Linked DNA regions of Homo sapiens: all the other regions are linked to region 1. Evidence: promoter capture Hi-C in 16 types of primary human blood cells and fetal thymus (Javierre and others, 2016). All regions are on one chromosome and are shown on one strand. The core of a region is centred on a gene start or on the middle of the fragment in contact, and the rest is flanking DNA. Distances in the headings are between cores, read along the strand shown.

Region 1 (2,828 bases), core at 158-2,657:
AGTGGGATCCGGACTTGAGAGAATGTCACAGTTGAAAATGATAAGGATGCAAACGGAATGGAACTTTCAGAGAACCCCAATTTTCTACTCTAAGTTCTCCAAACCAACTCTCAAATCCAAGATAGCTGCCTTTCCTTTCTTCACCTCCTCTTCTTAGTTTTCCCCAACTTGGCTGCAAAGTCAGCCTCCCCTCTTCTCTTCCTTAGCACCTCAGACCAATAAAACATGCAACCTTTTCTTATTCTTTTTAAAAAATTTATTTTTGACCAGGCGCAGTGGCTCACGCCTGTAATGCCAGCACTTTGGGAGGCCAAGGCGGGTGGATCACGAGGTCAGGAGTTCAAGACCAGCCTGGCCAACATGGTGAAACCCCATCTCTACTAAAAATACAAAAAATTAGCTGGGTGTGGTGGCACACACCTGTAGTCTCAGCTACTCAGGAGGCTGAAGCAGAAGAATCACTTGAACTTGGGAGGCGGAGGTTGCAGTGAGCCGAGATTGTGCCACTATACTCCAGTCTGGGTGACAGAGTGAGACTGCCTCAAAAAGAAAAAAAATTATTTTGTTTGTTTTTTAGATTTTGTAGAGATGGTGTTTCCCTAAGTTGCTCAGGCTGGTCTCGAACTCCTGGCCTCAAGTGATCCTCTCGCCCGGGCCTCCCAAAGTCCTGGGATTACGGGTGTAAGCCAACATGCCTGGCCCCTTTACTTCTTCTTTTCTGTTTTGGTCACAAAACATTTCTCTGTTGATCACTGTAGTGTGTGTGTGGAGGGAAGTGGGGGAGGTACACTCTTAAGAAATGAAATAGTTAACATCTTGGTCCTAAGATTTGTTGTAGAGATGGAGTCTTCTCATTCTGTTCCCCAGGCTGGTCTTGAACTCCTGGCCTCAAGCAATCCTCTTTCCTCGGCTTCCCAAAGTGCTGAGATTGATTACAAGTGTGAGGTACTGCGCCCTGCTACAATCCTTTAATAGGATGTTTTTGGGGGGGGTGGCAGGGGGCAGGATCTAGCTCACTGTAACCTATACTGTTCCAGTGTAACCTGCACCAAGCCATCCTCCCACCTCAGTCTCTTGAGTAGCTAGGAACACAAGCACACATCACCACACCTGGCTCTAACACGATTTTGCTTTTTGCTTTTGTCATTTTGGCTGCTGTTCTTTTTATCTTTCATTCATTCAAGGTCTGAAGATGGAGATAATAGGAATCTTCTCATCTCAATGTGCTCTTTGGCCCCTCCTCTTAAACTGATGCCCCTCTCAGGCCCTGAGGGATTTGGCCTCAGGTTGCCCTGGAAGGGGTGTGAGTGATCAGACAGGTGACTGAGAGCTGGGACGCCTGAGGCCTGCCTAGGCTGAGTCACCTAGTAATGTTGTTGTCATTGTTCCTGTTGAAGTCCCAGCTCAGTGTCACAGACCTTTGTGGAAGCAACAACAGCTCCCATCCTTCCAACCTTTCTGGAGAAGCCGTGGCCTGATGGTGAGCCGAATGGGCTGGGGGGGGAGAAGAAGGCGGCTGGGGCGGTGGGGAGATCTGGGGCCCGGATCGGTGCCCCTCCTCCCCATGCCACTGCCACCTCCTCCTCCTCCTTCATGCCGGGGACCTGGGGGAGGGAGGATCTCCATCTTCTCTCTGTCCCCTGCCCCTCATACAAGAAGCTCCCCCTCCTCATTTTCCCCTCCCACCGCAGGGCCCCCTTGCTCAGTGCTACAGGGGACAGGGGCTTCTCAGTCTTGCCACAGTGCTCTCCCTATCCCAGCCACCCCCCCAACACAGGCTCAACCTGCAATGACACCTGCCTCTGCATCTCCCTCCTGGGGATCCCACTCCACCCCACCCCTGGCCCCGGCAACCCCCACTCCCTCACAGCAGTGCCCCCAGGACTCTCCTGGGCTGCGGGTAGGCCCTTTGATCCCTGAACAGGATTATGAGCGGCTGGAGGACTGTGACCCTGAGGGGTCCCAAGACTCACCCATCCACGGGGAGGAGCAGCAACCCCTGCTTCATGTCCCTGAAGGGCTCCGAGGTATGTGTGTGGGTGTGGGTGGGAGAGGGTTAGTGGTGCCTGGGAGCTCCAGTACTTATCCCAGGCTGGGCCTCTGGCAGCGGGTTGAGAACGTGGAGAATTGATCACATGCCAGGGGCTGACACTCTCCCCTCTGTGCCCAGGCTCCTGGCATCACATCCAGAACCTGGACAGTTTCTTCACCAAGATATCCTTTGCGCTAGGCCTGCAGAGGTGGCATGGGAAGGTCCTCTTGGAGCTGGCACTGTTCTTGGCAGGGAGACTCCGTGAGGGCGTCATGGGTGGGAGACTTGTTGGGGCTGAGGGGAGGTGTCCTCAGGAGAGGCCCCCCGTGCCTCAGGCTTGTTCCTTGACACGCAGCCACATCTACAGCTACCACCAGCGGAATGGCTTTGCCTGCATCTTGCTGGAGGATGTCTTCCAGCTGGGGTGAGACGCTTAGCCCGGGCCCGGAACTCGGTCCCCTGGGCCCATGGCTTCCTTCTGTCATTTTGCTTCCTTAATTGTGCCAGCTGCTTCCATCCCATGCTTTCCCGAGCAGCCCAAGGGCTCAGCAGGGGCAGGGTCAGGGAGGATAACCATGGGCTGCTCTGGGGGCTGGGGCAGGAGCCCACCTGGCTGTCCCTGATCACTGCAGCATCCCGGCACCCCCCCTTCCTCCCGGCAGACAATTTATTTTCATTGTCACCTTCACAACCTTCCTCCTTCGATGCGTGGATTACAATGTTCTCTTTGCCAACCAACCAAGTAACCATACCAGACCTGGGCCGTTCCACAGCAAAGTGACCCTGTCAGATGCCA
Region 2 (2,901 bases), core at 2-2,501, 680 kb after region 1:
TTTGGGGACAAGGTTTTGCTCTGTGGCCAAGTCTGAGAGTGGTGGCTTGAGCCTATAATCCCAACACTTTGGGAGGCTGAGGTGGGAGGGTCATGTAGTGGCATGATCATAGCTCACTGCAACCTTGACTTCCCAGGCTCAAGTGATCGTCCCCCGCCAGCCTCCTGAGTAGCCAGGACTACAGACTTTTGCCACCACACTCAGCTAATTAAACTTTTTTTTTTTTGTAAAGATAGCCTCTCTCTATATTGCCCAGGCTGGTCTTGAACTCCTGGGTTCAGTGATCCACCCACCTTGGACTCCCAAAGTGCTAGGATTACAGGCATGAGTCACTACTCTCAACCCAAATATTCAATAATTAAAAATAAAAAAGTCAGTGTTTTCTCACCAATACCACACTACATATAAATGGGCTAAATTTGAATATCCAAGGAGATGAAACCTCATTTGTGACCTAGCCAGATAAATATAAGCATTTCAAATTAAATATTTTCATAATACTGACAAATAATTACAATCTACATACTTTTGTCACAAGAATCAACATACAGAGGTTTTAATTGTAATATACAGCATTGTGTAAATTGGCAAAATTTCAAGAAAAATGTGAAGAATTCTTAGTTGATATTGATAAATTTAGAATGGCTTTTGAATTTATGCAATATCATTTTTGAATTTATGCTAATGGTACCGAATTGACACAAGTTGGAAAATGTACTTAACTTCAATAGGTGTAGTTTTGCAACTGATATGCTCTTACTTCAAAGTCAAATCACTTCTTCTAAAAAAAACTATTTTTGTCAATGTGGTTGCAAATATTAAAGGACAATGTTTTTTGGTACTCAGTTCAGTTATTGGAAAACTAAGCTTGGAACAACTGGATACGTGAGTCTACTTTTTTAGCTGTCATGACCAGGAAGATCATTAACCATCATTAAATAGTGAAGTCCTGTTGTTGCTCCCCTGGACTGGGACATGTTACCTGGAGCTGAGCTCATGAATATGCCCTAAGTAGTCCTTTCACACATCCACACCTATGAGTGCTCTGCAGTAGGACTGTCCACCTCTTTGGGGTGCACCTCACATACCTACACCCAAAGTGAATTTTGTGTGGCCATTTAAGTATAGCCAGACTGGCTCCTTCCTCACCAACTCCCACCACCCTGCTCCCAACCTACCTCCCCACCTCAACTGCCTCACCTCCCCTGCAACAGACCTGATGCAACTTTCCCCCCAGCCCCCACCAAAGTCAGGATGAGTTTCCCGCTTTGCTCAGCTCAAGTCCTACCTTGTCCTGGAAGATTTCTCTCCTCACCCATCCTCAGGACGTCCCCCAGCATGGGTCTGTGGGGGCCAAAGGAAAACTTCCCCTTTGCCTTCTGAAGGTTTGCTGAAAAATCAACTGATGAAAGGCAGATTAATAGAATAAATTGATTCATTTATATTTTAGAGACAAGGTCTTGCTCTGTCCAGAGAGGCTGAAGTACAGTTTCATGATCAGAGCTCACTGCACCTTTGAACTCCTGGGCTCAAGCAATCCTCCTGCCTCGGCTTTAACAGGAAATATTTATTAACATACATGAGAGAGAACCACAAAGTGATTACCCCAACCCCTCAGTGGGATACAGAAGCTTATCCACCATCTTGAGTTTATACAAATATGGGGGCTCAGATAGTGGCAAGACAGGTTATGGAAGGGAGGGAAGAGGAGGCCTGGTTGGCAAAGGGAGTCTTGTTAGGTAGATGACACCTCACAGGTAGCAGCCCTCAGAAAGAACTGAGGGTAAATGTTTCTTTCAGATCTGTAAAGGTGTCAGCCTCTCAGTTAATCTTTCCTAGAGTTAGACAAGGGAGAGCCTCGGAGAAAGCCTGGCTACATCAATGCAGATTTCCTCTACAGATGCAAATCTCTCCACAAAAAGACAGCTTTTTGGTTATTCTATTTCCAACCATTCTGAACAGCCACCTTGAAATGTGTCAAAGAAGTATTTTTTGGGGTGAAATATTTTGGTTTCCTTCAAGTTCTTGGGCTGGGAAACATCTTTGGGTGCATCTTTTCTCTCTAACCCCATCTAAAGCTTTCAGGGAACACGGATCCCATCTCTTTCTGCTTAAGGGCGGCTGAGTAGCTCACAGCTGGGGAGTGAAGTACCCTAAGTAGTGGTGGGATTTCAGACACCTGGAAGTGGTTAATGGAAGCCGAGTTTCTTTCTGGTGCCCCCAGAGCACACTGTAAAGGAAATTCTCAGCTCTAAGTGGAGAATCCTGGTTAGGGGTGCGTAAGTAGGGGACAAAAGCCTTGTGCTCGGCACTGGACATCAGTTGCTTTTCATGTTTCTTCATTTAATCCTCAAAACAACTCCTTAAGACAGAGTTTCTGATCCCCATCTTACAGATAAAGAAACAGAAGTTCAGAGAGAGCCATGAAGTTACATGAGATCCTCTACTTCAGGTGATCCCTGCGGTGTGGGAACCAGAGGCATGGTGTTGGTGGTTACTGACGTGCAAAGTCTCAGAGCTTCTTCATCCTTGCTCCAGCGTACCCAGGAGTCGAGCCGGTATTTGGACAGTTTTCCTTGAGTTTCTGCTCACCTTATGAATTCCATCATGCCGTTCTGCCACACCCGAAGGCTCCCCCACTCCCCATGAGAATCTATCCCACGGAGAATGGGGCACGAGGAATGGTCAGGAAAGGCAGATGCAGGATACACACTGGACATCTTTGCTGTCGATCAAGGTTGCAGGCGCCAGAGTCCTCCCTAAAGGAGAGACCTTCCTTCTCAGTGTGGCTCAGGGAGTGGGAGGCAGGATCAGGTGTAGGGACCTCGAGGTCTCATTTGGTTTGAGAATGTCTGTATTTAGGGGAAGAAATCCCAGGATGAGTGTCTCAGGGACGCTGGG
Region 3 (2,700 bases), core at 147-2,646, 700 kb after region 1:
GACTGCTTTGAACTCAGGGGGTTGAGACCAGCTTGGGCAAGATGGCGAAACCTTGTCTTTACAAAAAAAATACAAAAAAATCAGCCAGCTGTGATGGCCTGTGCCTGTGGTCCCAGCTTCTTGGCAGTCTGAGGCAGGAAGATGGCTTGAGCAGGGAAGTGGAGATTGCAGTGAGCCGTGATTGCACCACTGCATTCCAGCCTGAGCAACAGAGCCAGACCCTGTCTCAAAAAAAAGAAGTTACTTGTGACACACATCACCACAGCTGACAACACATTGGAGGCCTACAACCACAACAAGACAAGATTCCAAGGGCTTCTAAGCTGAAGCACGGCCTTTTGGGCTGCACGCCTGCCCATAGTCGATCATGTGGGCAGCAGTCAGGAAAGCGCCCTAGCCAGGCCACATGGGAAGCAGGCACATCCCTGGGAGGCAAAAGGGAAAGCGGGCCAGGCCGGGGTGACGGCAGGGCGGGGTGATGGCACAATGCATGGAGGAGACTGTGGGGAGAGCTGTTCAGGAGGTGGCCCATGCCTAAGCCTCAAGTGGAAGAGGAGGAATGATGGAGAGCGCCTCCACAGTGAGCCTCTTTCCTCATACAGGTCCATGTGGGCTATTTTGGGGCAAATCTTCAGGCAAGTTTCTAGAGAAACTGAAGGAAAACACCAGAGGGGGCTGCCCAGGTAATGCTGACAATACAGGGAGGTGAGAGGATGAGCAGATCTCAAAGGTGACTGAGAGGCAGAGGGGAGAGACAAGGAAAAACCAAAGTAAAGTGAAGTTAGGGAAACCAAGAAAAGACTTTCCAAAAGCAGTGGTCAGCGGGGTCAAAGGTCCCTTCAGTGGGCGGTACAGCAGGAAGTGGGGGAGAAGCAGGAACCGGGAATGCTGGAGGTGGGGATGGGAGGGAAAAGGCTTGGCTCTGTCCCTAAACAGAGAGAAGGTGACCTGGGAAGAGCGGGGAGGCTAACTACACAGGGAAGAGAAGCTTCCTGGAGAAAGGGATCCAGGGCACAGGCGGTGGAAGGGATTGGCCTCAAGAGACCAGGAAGAACTCTCATTTTTCCTGACAGAGAAAGTAGGATGGGTCTGGTAGCAGGCAAGTCCTGGAGTGCTGTGCAGAAGGGAAGTGAGGCAGCTTATGCCTGAGAGCCAGGCATGTTGATTGCTCACGGGGAGCCGTACATCTGTAAAGGCAGCCAGCGGCTGGCTGAGTGATCTGGCTTAGCCTGGGCTGGGAAGCACCTCCGCACACTGGCTCAAGAAATTAGACCTATTCTTCTCGCTGCTCTCACCAAGCCTTTTCCCAAGTGCGTGCCCAGAAGGAAAGCGGCCACTCTTCTACTTCTCTTGTGCCTGCAAGAGAAGTAGAACCCCACCCTGGGCATTCCATGATTATGCCAGGCCTTTCTCACTCCGCCCAGTCCCTCTCCAGCCCCTCTGCTCTCAACTCCAGCACTGCAGGGGGACAGAGTGTCTACTCCACCCCCACCAGGCAGGGGATTTTAAGCACCTGCTGGGCCCTCAAGTCTCATCTTCCTCCACAACATCTGTGAGAAGATTGAAAGGTGGTGAGAGAAAGGGATAGGAGGAGATGAACGTGTGAAAGGAAAAGAGGAGAGCAAGCCATTGCATGTTTTGGGGTTTTGTCCCACACGCAAATTTGACTACTTATAAAGTCTAAGCAAGATGTTTTAAATAATAATCATGCATCATTAGGTTTCATACTGTGCAAAAAAAATGACACAAAGTGAGATCTGTTACAAACGACACGGCAGCACTCTGCTACTTTCTGGAAGCTTAGGGCTAACAATGGAGTCAGAGCATGGCATCCAGAGCCCGTCTCTGAGCACGGCCGTGATCCTGCTCCAGCACACGCCTCGGTTTCCTCGTCTACATTACGGGAATAGTAACAGCACCCGCCTCATGAGATTGTTAGTGTTAAACGAGTTAATTAATACCACAGTATTTCAGGGCAGTTCTCGGCACAGAGGGAGAGATGGGTAAGGGCTGGCTGTTCCGGAAGATTCTGGCCTCTCCCAGTGTGTTTCGGCGCGAGGGCACCGCTGGCCCAGCAGGTGGCCCCCCGGGGCCGGCACGGGCCCCGACAGCCGCCCCCTTCCCTGAACCTCGGCGGCCCAGTCCCCGCTTACCTGAGGGGTGGAGCCGGCAGCCTGCGGAGCCACTGGCCAAGCTGGGAAGTCCGGCGCAACTCCGCACCGCAGAGCCGGCGCCTCCTCGGCAGGTAAGAGCCGCAGCCCCGCCGCCCGCCGCCTGGCGGCCCCTGACCCCTGGGCCGCGTGCCCACCACCCAACTTGTTGGCCAGCGTGCTTCTCCCAGCGCCGCAGGCCTGAGCTCCCGGAACGCGCCCAGGGGGCCTGGCCAAAGGCCGTAGTGGGCGCTCTGGATTCCGGGATGCGCCAGGGGTTACTTCCGGAAGCGCAGCCTGCGGGGGTCTTCGCGCGCACCCCCCGCCTCGCAGTTGGTACGTTCCTCCTACCTGCGGTGCCTGAGTGCGCAGGCGTGGGCAGCGAGGCGGTGCGGCCGGAAGCGAAGGGGCCGTGAGGTCAACAGTCGGTAATCGTTTATCGGTGCGGCCTTAGAGAAAGGACCTCCAAGCCCTTGTTCAATACATGTTGGGTGGTGGTCACAGGTGCCAGTCTCCGGACGGATGGCGGCCTAGATTTCCTCCCGGACTC
Region 4 (2,803 bases), core at 78-2,577, 660 kb after region 1:
CCTTCAAAATGTCTTGGAGGATGGCCCAGCAACCAGCCAAATGGCCCAATGGCCTAGCCCAGTGGAGACGGTCTCAGCTTTTGACAAGCTAGCCGGAGAAAGGGCTGGACAGGAAGGGGCCCACTGGACAGCGAATATTGATAGGGCCCCTGGGAGGATCAATTTTCCCCTCCAACAGTGCCTGGCTCCCATTATCAGATTAGATGCAAAGTGGGCTGGCATGCCAGGGGGTGACAGGAACAGTGTCTCCAGAAATCCTCTGTGAAGACACCCAAGTATTGTTCAGAAGTGGCCCTGTATCTGGAAGAGGGAAAACTGCACCCACTTCTTGCAGACATACAGTTCCAGCTCCCCCCACAGGACTTGCTCATACATCCAACAAATATTTAATCAGTGCCCACCATCTGCCACTGTGCCAGGTGCCCGGCCTCATCATGAGTCAGGCAGAGGTGGTCTGTGCAGTTTTCCCACAATGTGAGAGGGTGCTGAGAAGACTTTTAACGCTTATTTAACTACGGAAATAACTCTTGGTTTGGTACCTACTACAAAATAAAAACAAGCGCTTGTTGATAATTTCTGGATGGATGACTGTGGAAAGCTGGAGGAGACTGAGGATCAATTTGCTCTAATGAACCTTCCCTTGACTATCATCTCCGTTACCTCCTGCCGCATCCCTACGGCAAATATGCAAGACTCTCACGCAGCTAATTTCCAGGGGTTTGCAGTCTGGGGAGGAAGCAGAAAGCACATCCCTCACTGACCCTGAGGAGGGGCAAATCTCTGGTAGCAGTCACAGGTACGTGCTGTACACACTTCCCATCCTTTGAGCCTTCCCAGCTGGAGAGCACCAAGAGAACGCAGTTGGGGAGGCCCCGAAAGATGAAGGGTTGTTGAGCTTGAAGGCAGTGAAAAAGTAAATGGAAGAAAGCTCTCTGCCCTCCACTGCCTAAATGCAGGATATAGATTTAGAAGGATAAAAGGGGTCTGCTCCCTCTCTCGACCAGGGAAAAGTTAACCACTGAAGACAACTTTAGACTCTTATGGGCCTGGAGCTGGAACCAGAGGAATGGACATGAAGGCGCTTTACTAACTCTATTTATCTGCCAGTTACTTACCTTTCTACAAGTTCTCCCCTTAGACACTCAAAGTTCTTTTCCTTTGTCCTGTCGCTTCCCTAAAACTTGGCTTTTCTTTGTTGAAGATGCTATACAAGCTGGAATTCAAAGCTACCACTTTGAGAACTACTCAATTCCTGCGTGTCTCCCAGGCAGATGTGAAATACACATGTTAATAAACTTCCACTGGTTTTTCTCTTGTTAATCTGTCTTTTGTAACAGGAGTCCGTTCCAACCACAAATCTAGGGGGGCTGAGGAAAAACCCCTACAGTGGCACACACTGAAGAAGGCCCCCTCACTTTCCAAGGTTTCCCATCTCAGGTGGAAGGAGGCCTGCTAAGTCATGTGAAAATTATTCAGGAAAAGATCAAAGTGCTTCTACTTCTGCAGTTCTAAAAATATCTTTAAGTGCATGAAAACATGTATAATGCACGACAGGGACGCACGCTGTAAGAGTAGCCCTGGGCTGAGATCAAATGTCAGTCCCCAAATTCCACCACACAAGATGCTTTCCTGCCGCATATCTAGTTCCCAGAGTCTCTTGCTAAAAGAAAAAAGAATCCAGCTGGTAAAATGAGTATCAGGTAGATGGCTCAGATTTCCTGCAGAGGAAACTGGTACATGCGTGTGCCCCATAACGGTGAGGCCTGCTTCCCACCCTTATCCCCCACCCCTGCACCATAGTCTCCCTCACCAGGACTCTGCAGCAGTGGCCAGCCACTCCTCCTGCCTCCGCTCTGGCCCCATAAAGTCCTGTCTCCACTTAACCAGCTTGGCCCTTTAAACATGAATCAGATCAAGCAGCTCCCTTGCTAGGGAACTCCGACGCCTCCTGCTAACATTTGGACTGACATCCAACCCGCGGCCATGGCCTGCAGGGTTCCTGCAGACCTCCATGCGCCTGCCAGACACTGCCCCAGCAGCCGCCACTCATTTCCACCTTAGGGCCTTTGGAGTTGCCTAGACGATCCTCCTCCAGGTCCGCATGGACTTCCGTTCTTCACTGTATTCAGATTTTGGCTGAAGTCTCCTCGCCTCAAAACACGCTTCCCAACAAACCCCTCTAAAATAGCTTCACACCTAGATGAGATTCCTAGGACTGCTCTAACAAATGACCACCAGCTCGGCCTGAAATAACTGGCATTTATTATCTTACACGGCTGGAAGTCAGAAGCCCAGAATGTTTCACTGGGCCAAAGTCAAGGTGTCGGCAGGGCCCCACTCCCTCCAAAGTCTCTAGGGGAGAATCCTTCCTTGCCTTTTCTGGCTGGAAGAGCTGCTTCCCAGGCATTCTTGGGCTCGAGGCCCCTCCCTCTGTCTCCCAAGCCCTCAGCGCAGCATCTTGCTACACTTGTCACTTTGCCGGCCTGTGCTGCAGCTGAATCTCCCCCTGTACCCCCGCCAACACAAAGACACATGTAATTACCCAGATAGCCAGGAGAATTGTAAAAGCAAATACAAATCAAAAAGAATAAAAATAAGTTTTCTTTCTCCCTGGTGAAAAAAGGCAGAGATGCTCCTCACCAACACCCCCTTTTCTCAGCACATTTGCATTAGAAAGCTTGTGATTGTGAATTTTCCTCTGCCCATGTGAGATATATGCAAATCTTTTATTTTATTTTATTTTATTTTATATTTTTATTATTTTTTAGAGGCAGAGTCTTACTCTGTCACCCATACGGGAGTA
Region 5 (2,700 bases), core at 7-2,506, 650 kb after region 1:
GTCCTCGCACCCTGTGACCAACCTTGGAAGGCCCTTGCTCAGTTCTCCCCTTCCCAGCCCAGATTAGGGATCGCTTTGACCAGGAAGCCTTTTTGGACACACCAGGCACAGCCAGGAATCCCTTCTCTGTTTAACCTGTGCACCTAGGACCATCTACATGGAATCATCATTGTCATCAATTTGTTAGTCTGCACAAGACTACATGCATCTTAACACAGGGTCCTTCTCTCTCCCCTGCACCCAGTACAGGCTCCACACACAGTAATCCATTAATAAAAACTGTCATAAGGGAACACTTAAATAAAAGAAATTTCAGTACAAAACAGATTTGAAGCACGGAAGCATGAACCTTCAAGCTGAAAGGAGACAACTGCCATCTAATCTCTTCATTTTACAGATGAACATGGGAACAGTTAGCTGTGAAGCCTTGGGCTGTCGTCCGCCTCCAACCCCTGGGGCTCTGACCACACCCAGCCCCAGCTCAGATCATCTTGCTCAAAGGGCCGAAGGAGGACCCATCTCCACACCTTCCACATGTAGATATCCTCAACGTTCTTCACAGAGGGGATGCCCGCACCCCGCCCCACCGAGTTCGCGGCTGCTGTGCCCATCTTCCTAGAGAGGAGTTCTCCGCCACACCCGACACCACACACTTCCAACTTCTGCGGTGCTTCCCTCTCACTTATCTCCACCCCCAATCCTTATCCCCGCTCGTTTAATCACACATTTATTGGTCACCTACTATGTGTCTGTCACTCTGCAGCGAGCATTGGGGTTCCTGCCCCCAGAAACTGATCTATCAGGGAGGCGAACAGGGACGGGGAACTCGGAACAACGGGACAGCCCAGGAGAGACCGCCCGCGGGCGACCCCTCTACTCGCCACCGCGTCCTCCCTCCATTCTCACTAGCCTCCCTCCTAACCTCGCTGCCCTGGCCTGGCGCCCTCCCCACCCTCGGCCGCGCCCCTTTCCCCTCGGCTGTGTCGGGGCAGAGGGAACGCTTGAGACCCGGGGCTCGGGGGGCGCGCGGGGCTCGGGGCACCCCAGGCCCCCGCCCCATCCCTCCGCCCCAGCCCGGGCCGGGCGGAGGCAGCACGGGAGGAGCGGGGCCGGGCGCTGGTCCATCCCTCGCACCGCCCCTCCCCGCCCAAAATGCAGAGGGACTCGGAGGGAGGCGACGGGGAAATAAATACCTTTGACTTTGTGGCTAAGGTTAACGGGAACTGCCACCCCGAGGGCGACTTGGGCACCGGGCTCCCGGCCCTGGCCATTCCCGGGGCAGGCGGGGCGGGCACGGGTGCCTGATTGGCTGGCGGGCCTGGCCATCCCCGGGGCCGCCCAGCCACTCCATTGGCTGCGCCGCTCAGATGACCCGCCCGGCCCTATCGGAGCAGCCCGCGGGGCGGCTCCTTTGTTCTCTGGAGCCAATAGCCGAGGGGGGAGGGCTGACCTCGCCCCCGGCGGGCGCGCAAGGCCCGGGCGCCGTGAGCGCGCTAGCCGCCGGCCGCGGGGAGGAGACCTTGGGAGGTCGGGCCCCAGATGGCCGGCGGCGTCCTGGCACCCCTGCCAGGCCTGGACTCCGCGTGCGACCCCGTTGTAACGCCTGAACTCAGCGCACGTTCGCCGAGCGCCACAGCGCGCCGGACGCTGTTTCTCCCTGCTGGGGACCCATCAGGGCCCGGACAGAAACCCCGGCTGAGGCTGTGGCTGCCCTCAAGCCGCGATAGCCCCACCGTGGGGTGTGATAACTTTTAGGGTTCACTACGAGGGACCTTAGAAATCATTATACCCGACCCCTTCGTTTTCTGTTTCAGGGAGGTGGTCTCGCTCAGACCCCAGTGGCGCGATCATGGCTCAGTGCAACCTCGAACCCGTGGCTCAACCGAACCTCCCAACCTGCTAACTTTTTAAATATTTTGTAGAGATGGGGGTCTCGCCATGTTGCCCAGGCTGGTCTCGAACTCTTGAGCTTAAGTGACCCTGCGGCCTCGGCCTCCCAAAGTGCTGGGATTACAAACCCGCGCCCGGCCTAATCCCTTTGTTTTCTAGCTGAGGAACGGCTCTGAGGTTACGTTACTAGGTCGGGTTACTAGGTAGGGTTCCCGTGAGCGGAATCATCTCCGCCCAGTTGCCACCCCGGTCCAGACTGCCAGACCTTCAGGAAGGAGTATCTTCGCAACTCCCCACCCCATTGTAAGGAAATTCCTCACACTTCTCCCTCAAAGGGGGCGCAGCTGGGTCAACTCCCACTGGCAGGATGCTCTCCGGAGCTGCTAGAAGCTGCCTCTGGGGCATGAGGTAGATACAGACAGAAGCTGGGCCTCTGAGACTCTACAAACGGTTGCTGTTGGGCAGGCGGACCTTATTTTCTTCAGTCAACAGCTGATTAAACATTTGCCACAGGCCCGGCTGCGGTTTAGCCTCAGTAGCACAGCAGGAACTGGGGACTGAGATTCGATTTTGTCACTAACTTCATGTGTACTTTTTATAAAAGATACTTTTCTGTTTCTGGACTTTGACTTATTCGTCTATAAAATAGGGTTAATAATTTTCTAGTTGCCTGCATACCTTACTGAGTTTTTACCGTTAATTTGGTTATATTATCTATAGAAGGATTTGTAAAATACAAAATCATACACACCCTATAAAGAGGCCACACATCACTAGCTATCAACACTTTGGAGTCTCATTCTCCTGTTT
Region 6 (2,706 bases), core at 21-2,520, 590 kb after region 1:
GAACCCCAAGGAGTCGGACACAGGAGCAGCAAAGTGCAGGCTGCCCACTGCATCTGCACCAAGGGGAAGGCACGGTCTCTGCAGGCAGCTGCCTCGTACCCCAGCAGCTGCACGTTGCTGCCAGCGCCTGGGGACCGCTGCCTCAGATGGAGAAGCTGGAACTCAGATCCTAGACTATTCCCCTGGGGGAATGCGATGATGGTTTCCAAACTTCACAGGTGCAGGCACGGTTCAAACCTCTGCTTTGCCCTTCCTAACTGCCTGAACTTGAGCAAGTGACCTCCACCCCCAAGTACTTCAGGTTCCTGATCTATAGAAGGAAGATCGTAACGATAATGGTCTTGTGGAGTAGGATGAGGATTAAATAATCTCTCTCCAGTGGGGACTGTTTATTATCTCACACCCCATGTACCCCAGGGACAGAAAATGGGGTTAGGGGGCAGGGCGTGGTGGTGCACACCTGTGGTCCCAGCTGCTCTGGAGGCTGAAGCAGGAGGATCGCTTGAGCCCAGGAGGTCGAGGCTGCAGTGAGCCATGATTGCACCACTGCACTCCAGCCTGGGTGACCAAGGGAGACCCTGTCTCCAAAAAAATAATGCGGTTAGAGTTAGCATCTCCCTTGCTCCTTGGCTTTCAGGCCATACCTCTTCTCCCTTTTGAGAACTAGTCGGCCTCTTCGAGTGTTAGCTGCTGGTCTCTTCCCTTCGTGCTTTGGGGTATGGGCGTCCAGCTCAGTCCCCCCGCCGTCCCCAGGCTTTGTCCCAGGACATGCCGGGTGTATTTGTTCTCCATTGCTGCATAATAAACCACCACAAAAAGTGGCTTGAACAACACAGACTTACTCTCTTAGCGTTCTGGAAGTCCAGAGTCTGAAATGAACCTACAGGGCTAAAATCAAGGTGTCCACAGGGCAGGTTCCTTCTGGAGGCTCCAAGGGAGAATCTCACTGTTCCATGTCTCCTTCAGCATGAGACAGAGAGAGAAAGAGGGAGAGGTGGGGGGTTGGTGAGGTAGAAGGTGCCACACACTTTTAAATGACCAGATCTCATGTGAACTCAGAGCAAGAGCTCACTCATCACCAGGAGGATGGCCCAAGCCATTCATGAGAGATCTGCCCCCATGGCCCAAACACCTCCCACCAGGCACTTCTAACACTGCAGATTACATTTCATTCAACATGAGATTTGGGCAGGGACAAATATCCAAACTATATCAGCTATTAAAGTCCCCAAACCTTCCCTTTAGCTTCCAGTTGCTTTCCTTTGGCTTCTGGGGCAGCCTGCAGAGGGCAAGTGCCTTCGCTCTGAGAGCAGCTGAGTAAGGACACTGCCTTCTCTGACTATATTGAGTACCAGCCCCCCATTCACCAGGCATCCGACTCTCTGCCTCCAAACAATTGCTTTATGCAGGTCCAGGGGCTGGGCCTGGCTATTCTATGCCATCCTTGGGAGTCCTTCCCATCGTCAAGGATTTTCTGAAAGGTCAAGCCTGGCTGCACTGGAGAAGGGAATGTGGAAGCCACAGCCCCTCGTAGCCGGCAGCCTGGGCAGCAACTGGAGGAGGTGGAGCATTTTCCTCTCCCTGTGGGGCTGAGGAATGTGCAGAAAATGGGTCTGCGGGTTCTTTCCAGGTTGCTCAGGAAGGGGTCTAGGGATGTATCTGAGGGGACAAGGGTTTGGGTAGGGACCCAGGCCAGGACTCCAAAGCCCCAGTGCCTTGGCCCTGAGAGCTTGCCTGCCAGTGATTTCTACCTTGGCTGGAATGCACTTTGCCATTTCCTCTGTAGACACTTCCTTGGGCAGATGCGGCCATCTGGTCTACTCCACAGGAGGTGGGAGTGACAGCAGCAAATAAAGAAGACAGGAAGAAGGCGGCCAAGGGCTGCGTGAGTGAACACAAACAGCAGGAGGGCACTTTGCCCAGTGTGGCTTCTGAATCATGCCTCTGAAAGTCCCTGTGTGTGCACACAGCTGTGGGCAGTGCTTACGTTTCTGTGCATGTGTCTGTGGAGAGTGTGGTTGGGGGTCGGAGGGGGTACCTGTGAATTCCTTAGAGAATCCTAGAGGGTGGGACTCTACGGGACCTGCAAGCAAGTCCAGTGGGTTCCAAATGTTTTCTGCAGGTTCTAGTGGGGGCCCCCGGACACCTAAGGGGTGGGCCCAGCAGACAAGGTTGCTGGGGAGAGGGAGACCCATCCCATGCTGTAGCTGGAACACTCCTGGGGTGATCCATGGGTCTTCCTAGTGATATTTTGAAAAAATAAGATTTTACTTTCATTAAAAAAAAAACAAATCTTTGGAAGTAGTGACTTCCCATCTAACCTCCTCATTCTTCAGTGAAGAAACTGTAGCCCCCAGAAAGGAAGTGACTTCCCCAAGGTCGTGAAGGAACCAGCTGGGGGAGAGTCTCAGGCCTCCTGACTCCAAAGTGGGTGCCATCCACAGTTTATCTTGCATCTCTCGGCCTGCAGGGCTGTGGAGGTACAGGCGGCTGGAGGGTGCACTCTGCCCAGCCTCACCCCGGTGAGGACCAAGTGTCCCGGTTCTGAGGAACACAAGGCAAGGCCTCCCTCTTCTAAAGTCTCTTCTTGTTTCCTGACCTGCCGCACTAGTCAGGCCTCTGGTGAAAGGCGTTTGAGGCCCTCAGCACCCTCACGTGACGTGGGAGCCCCAATACGCATGGAGCTGTTGGCACCACTTTGCCACT
Region 7 (2,954 bases), core at 388-2,887, 620 kb after region 1:
TGGGAGTGGTAGGCAGAGGACAGTCTCCGAGGAGCCATAGCCACATAGCACTGAGGATGGGCAGAGGGGGCAGTGGGGAGGGACGAGTCTCCAGCACCCAGCACAGGACTGAATGTGCAGGTCCCCTCGAAGCCCCAGCTCCCTTCCTCCCAAACCACTCCCAGGGATGCCATGTCCCCTTCAAACACCCGTACCACCCCTAACACCCCTGCCCCAGCTCCTATCACATGGCCCCAAATCCTCCCTGCTCCATCGTCCACTTTTTAAGCAGTGAAGCTAAAAGGTTCTGGGATTCAGAATCCAAAACAAAGCCCTGGCTTCCACCTGTTGTACCCCTAAGTACCAACTGTGGTGTAGGCAAGCTTGGCAAACCTGTTTCCTCATCTGCCAAAAGGCTGAAGAGGCCCGTGCCTCAGAGCGCCAGCTTGGAACCAGAGGTCCTGGAGCAGAGTCCTGGCTGCCCCCTTTCTCACTGCCAGACCTTGGCCAGGCCTCTTAGCTGGGGGCCTTATGTTCTCTTGCCCAGATGACCCAAGCCCCTCGAGGCTCCAGCTCTTCCCACATCAGTCTGTCCTCACAGTGCCTCTGATTCTCCTCCTAAAGCATAAGTCTGAGATCATAGCACTCATCTCATTAAAAATCTCAGTGTCCCCACCCCCTGACCACGAAGTCCTTTGTAGGGCAAACCTCCCCTTGGGACACCTGGAGACAGTCACTGAACTATCAGGACCCCCCCTCCCTTGAAAACACCCTTCTACACACTTGCTCTTCCTAGAACAATTTTATTTGTCCCCATGACCTGGTTCAAAGCCATCAAACTCCCCTGGGTGACGAAGAGAAACCAGTCACCCTCCTCGGTCTCACCCCAGAGCACTTTGTAGGTTGGCCCCGCGTCACACACCGAGTGTGAGCACCCCGTGTCAGGGCCTGCGGTCCTCATGTGTGTCTCTGGGAGAGCCCAGCCCGGCACAGTCAGTGGCACATGGTGTGGCAGAATCAACTAAGGCTCTGTGCACCAGTGACCTCACCCTCTCTCATCCAGTAGCTGCAATATATCCCAGCGAGGAAGAGTCCCTCATCTATATCCCCAACTTACAGATGAGTAAACTGAAACATGAAGTGAAATGACATCTCAAGGACAGCAGAGAGTGTGTACAGGAGCCAGGAGGCCTAGGGGCTGAGGTTGGGCGTGGGGTTTGTGGAAAGTGGCCTCTCCAAGTCTCTTTCAACTCTGACATTCTGGGGATGAAGATCCGGTAAGCAGCTCATCACAGAGAAACCTACAGCCCGGTACCCAGACCGCCCCACCTGCCATCAAGAATCAACACCACGCACTCCACCCCCACCACTCCCAGCCCTGAGAGGGGCTCTGGCCAGCCCCGCAGGTCTCACCTGCTCTAGGCCGGATGGGCCAGAGAAGGAGAACCATGGCAGGAGCCGGAAGCAGCTGTGCGCAGCCAGCCAGAGGGTCCCGAGGGAGGAACGCGAGCGGGCGGCCGGAGCCTGGCGGCGGCCCACACCTTCAAGAGCCCAAGCCAGCGCTGCCCCTCTCCCGGGATCCCATCTAGAGAGGGAGCTGCGGCCCAGGGCCATCTCCAGGGGTCGGGGACGCACGTGCGGGGCGGGAAGCAGCCGTCGGCAGCAGGCCCCGGGCGCATCATAGCACGCGTCCTAAGTGGGCCGCCTGGCCCTCGGGCCCGTGGCCGTGGCTGCGCTGATGGGTCTTGAGCGAGCCCTCGCGCGCGAAGCTCTTGCCGCAGCGGGGGCAGAAGTAGGGCCGCCGCTCCCCGAAGACGCCGGGGCGGCGCGGGTGCGGCGCGGGCATGCGCGCGTGGGTGCGCTGGTGGTTGAGCAGGAAGCGCGGCTCGCGGAAGCAGCGGCCGCACTGCGCGCACTGGTGCGGCTTCTCGCCGCTGTGGATGCGCTGGTGCGTGAGCAGGTTCTGCTTGAGGCTGAAGCAGCGGCCGCACTCGGGGCAGGGGAAGGGCCGCTCCCCGGTGTGCGTGCGCTGGTGCACCTCGAGGTTGTGCTTGACGCTGAAGGCCTTGCCGCACTCGGGACACACGAAGGCAGCCGCGCGGCCCGCTCCGGCGTGCGCCTTCTGGTGCCGCACCAGGCTGGGCTGCTGCGAGAAGGTCTGGCCGCACAGCGGGCAGCGGTAGGGCTGCTCCTCTGCAGGGTGGTGGATGACCAGGCCTCGCTCGTCCCCCAGACCCTCCTCCCCGTCCCCCGCAGGGGACCCGCCCCCGGAGGACGCCAGCTCGGTCATGGGCACTTCCAGCTGCAATCACCAGTCCCTAGGGAGACAGAAGCGGGGGCGGGGGTGGGGGGTGGAGAGAGAGGGGTCGGGGAACACGAGGGTTAGCCAACCCCCAGCCTGGCAGGGACACTCACCTCCCACAACCTCCACCTTTCGCCCCGTTTTGTTCAAGCTCAAGTTCCCCTGCTGGGAATTGGTGTTCCTCTTCCTCCACTGCCTTTTAAGCACGGCCTACACTCCTTCCAGTCCCTTCCCAAGGGCACCTTCTCCTAGAAGCCTTCCCTGACCTTTCCACCCCGGGCTTAAACACCGTGTGACACAACCATGTGGCTCTCACTGATCATACTGCACGAGGGTCAGTCATGCCACCTCTGTCCCCCGACTCCCAGCACCCTAAGGACAGAGCTGCCTTCTTTCAACCCCAGCACCTAGCACCATGCCAGCCAGCCACACAAGACACTAGACAGATGGTGATGAGTTTCAGTTAGGATTTTCAGTTTCAGTTTCAGCTAGGATTTTCAGTTACCTTCGTCTAGATATGTCTTATCCCTCCAACCAGATCTCAAGGACAGGGGGAGGTAGGGAAGTGCACCCCAAACTTGGAGAAAAGGGTGGCATTATCAGTGATTTAAAGATATTTTTGTGAAGCTTAAAACAGGAAAAAAAACACAACCCTGTAAACTTGAAAGTGACC

What was found. Contacts are between HindIII fragments. The CHiCAGO score rates a contact against its expected background, and 5 or more counts as called.
Region 2: a fragment that was not itself captured here is called in contact with the fragment with the promoter of ATG9B in region 1 in 1 of 17 cell types (non-activated CD4 T cells); the score reaches 7.0 in non-activated CD4 T cells.
Region 3: a contact is called between a fragment that was not itself captured here and the fragment with the promoter of ATG9B in region 1, in 3 of 17 cell types (non-activated CD4 T cells, naive CD8 T cells and naive CD4 T cells). The highest score is 5.7, in non-activated CD4 T cells.
Region 4: a fragment that was not itself captured here is called in contact with the fragment with the promoter of ATG9B in region 1 in 3 of 17 cell types (naive B cells, monocytes and total B cells); the score reaches 7.4 in naive B cells.
Region 5: the fragment with the promoter of ZNF775 here is called in contact with the fragment with the promoter of ATG9B in region 1 in 1 of 17 cell types (neutrophils); the score reaches 6.9 in neutrophils.
Region 6: a contact is called between a fragment that was not itself captured here and the fragment with the promoter of ATG9B in region 1, in 3 of 17 cell types (naive B cells, total CD4 T cells and total B cells). The highest score is 6.2, in naive B cells.
Region 7: a contact is called between a fragment that was not itself captured here and the fragment with the promoter of ATG9B in region 1, in 2 of 17 cell types (non-activated CD4 T cells and total B cells). The highest score is 6.8, in non-activated CD4 T cells.

The regions. Positions count from the first base shown.
Region 1 is chr7:151,023,073-151,025,900 of GRCh38, reverse strand. It overlaps ATG9B (autophagy related 9B), which reads left to right and starts at 1,407. Exons shown (of 14, transcript NM_001317056.2): 1 at 1,407-2,027; 2 at 2,171-2,214; 3 at 2,392-2,456; 4 at 2,695-2,828. The coding sequence starts at 1,478. LOC124901777 (a long non-coding RNA gene) reads left to right here. Exons shown (of 3, transcript XR_007060593.1): 3 at 868-906. RefSeq lists an enhancer at 1-496. The HindIII fragment of the contact is 8,592 bases long and covers 1-2,828 here.
Region 2 is chr7:150,342,029-150,344,929 of GRCh38, reverse strand. LOC107986858 (a long non-coding RNA gene) reads right to left here. Exons shown (of 3, transcript XR_001745420.3): 1 at 2,593-2,901; 2 at 1,289-1,402. Among named protein-coding and RNA genes, the nearest start is that of RARRES2, 1.8 kb to the right of the region's middle. The HindIII fragment of the contact is 764 bases long and covers 870-1,633 here.
Region 3 is chr7:150,323,014-150,325,713 of GRCh38, reverse strand. It overlaps ACTR3C (actin related protein 3C), which reads left to right and starts at 2,169. Exons shown (of 8, transcript NM_001164458.2): 1 at 2,169-2,245. It overlaps LRRC61 (leucine rich repeat containing 61), which reads right to left and starts at 2,359. Exons shown (of 3, transcript NM_001142928.2): 1 at 2,154-2,359. RefSeq lists an enhancer at 1,530-1,599 and a silencer at 1,990-2,309. The HindIII fragment of the contact is 811 bases long and covers 991-1,801 here.
Region 4 is chr7:150,361,175-150,363,977 of GRCh38, reverse strand. It overlaps REPIN1-AS1 (REPIN1 antisense RNA 1), which reads left to right. Exons shown (of 4, transcript NR_183429.1): 4 at 1-1,320. Among named protein-coding and RNA genes, the nearest start is that of REPIN1, 6.2 kb to the left of the region's middle. The HindIII fragment of the contact is 2,705 bases long and covers 1-2,679 here.
Region 5 is chr7:150,377,886-150,380,585 of GRCh38, reverse strand. ZNF775 (zinc finger protein 775) reads right to left here and starts at 1,256. Exons shown (of 3, transcript NM_173680.4): 1 at 1,194-1,256. It overlaps ZNF775-AS1 (ZNF775 antisense RNA 1), which reads left to right. Exons shown (of 2, transcript NR_183445.1): 2 at 398-741. RefSeq lists enhancers at 38-97, 2,108-2,267 and a silencer at 888-1,697. The HindIII fragment of the contact is 8,122 bases long and covers 1-2,700 here.
Region 6 is chr7:150,428,061-150,430,766 of GRCh38, reverse strand. No RefSeq gene overlaps it. Among named protein-coding and RNA genes, the nearest start is that of LINC00996, 4.2 kb to the left of the region's middle. RefSeq lists an enhancer at 1,772-1,941. The HindIII fragment of the contact is 4,508 bases long and covers 1-2,706 here.
Region 7 is chr7:150,406,927-150,409,880 of GRCh38, reverse strand. LOC728743 (zinc finger domain-containing protein LOC728743) reads right to left here. Exons shown (of 3, transcript NM_001395976.1): 2 at 1,393-2,297. The coding sequence starts at 2,269. The coding sequence ends at 1,658. Among named protein-coding and RNA genes, the nearest start is that of ZNF775-AS1, 24 kb to the right of the region's middle. RefSeq lists an enhancer at 2,883-2,932. The HindIII fragment of the contact is 2,546 bases long and covers 365-2,910 here.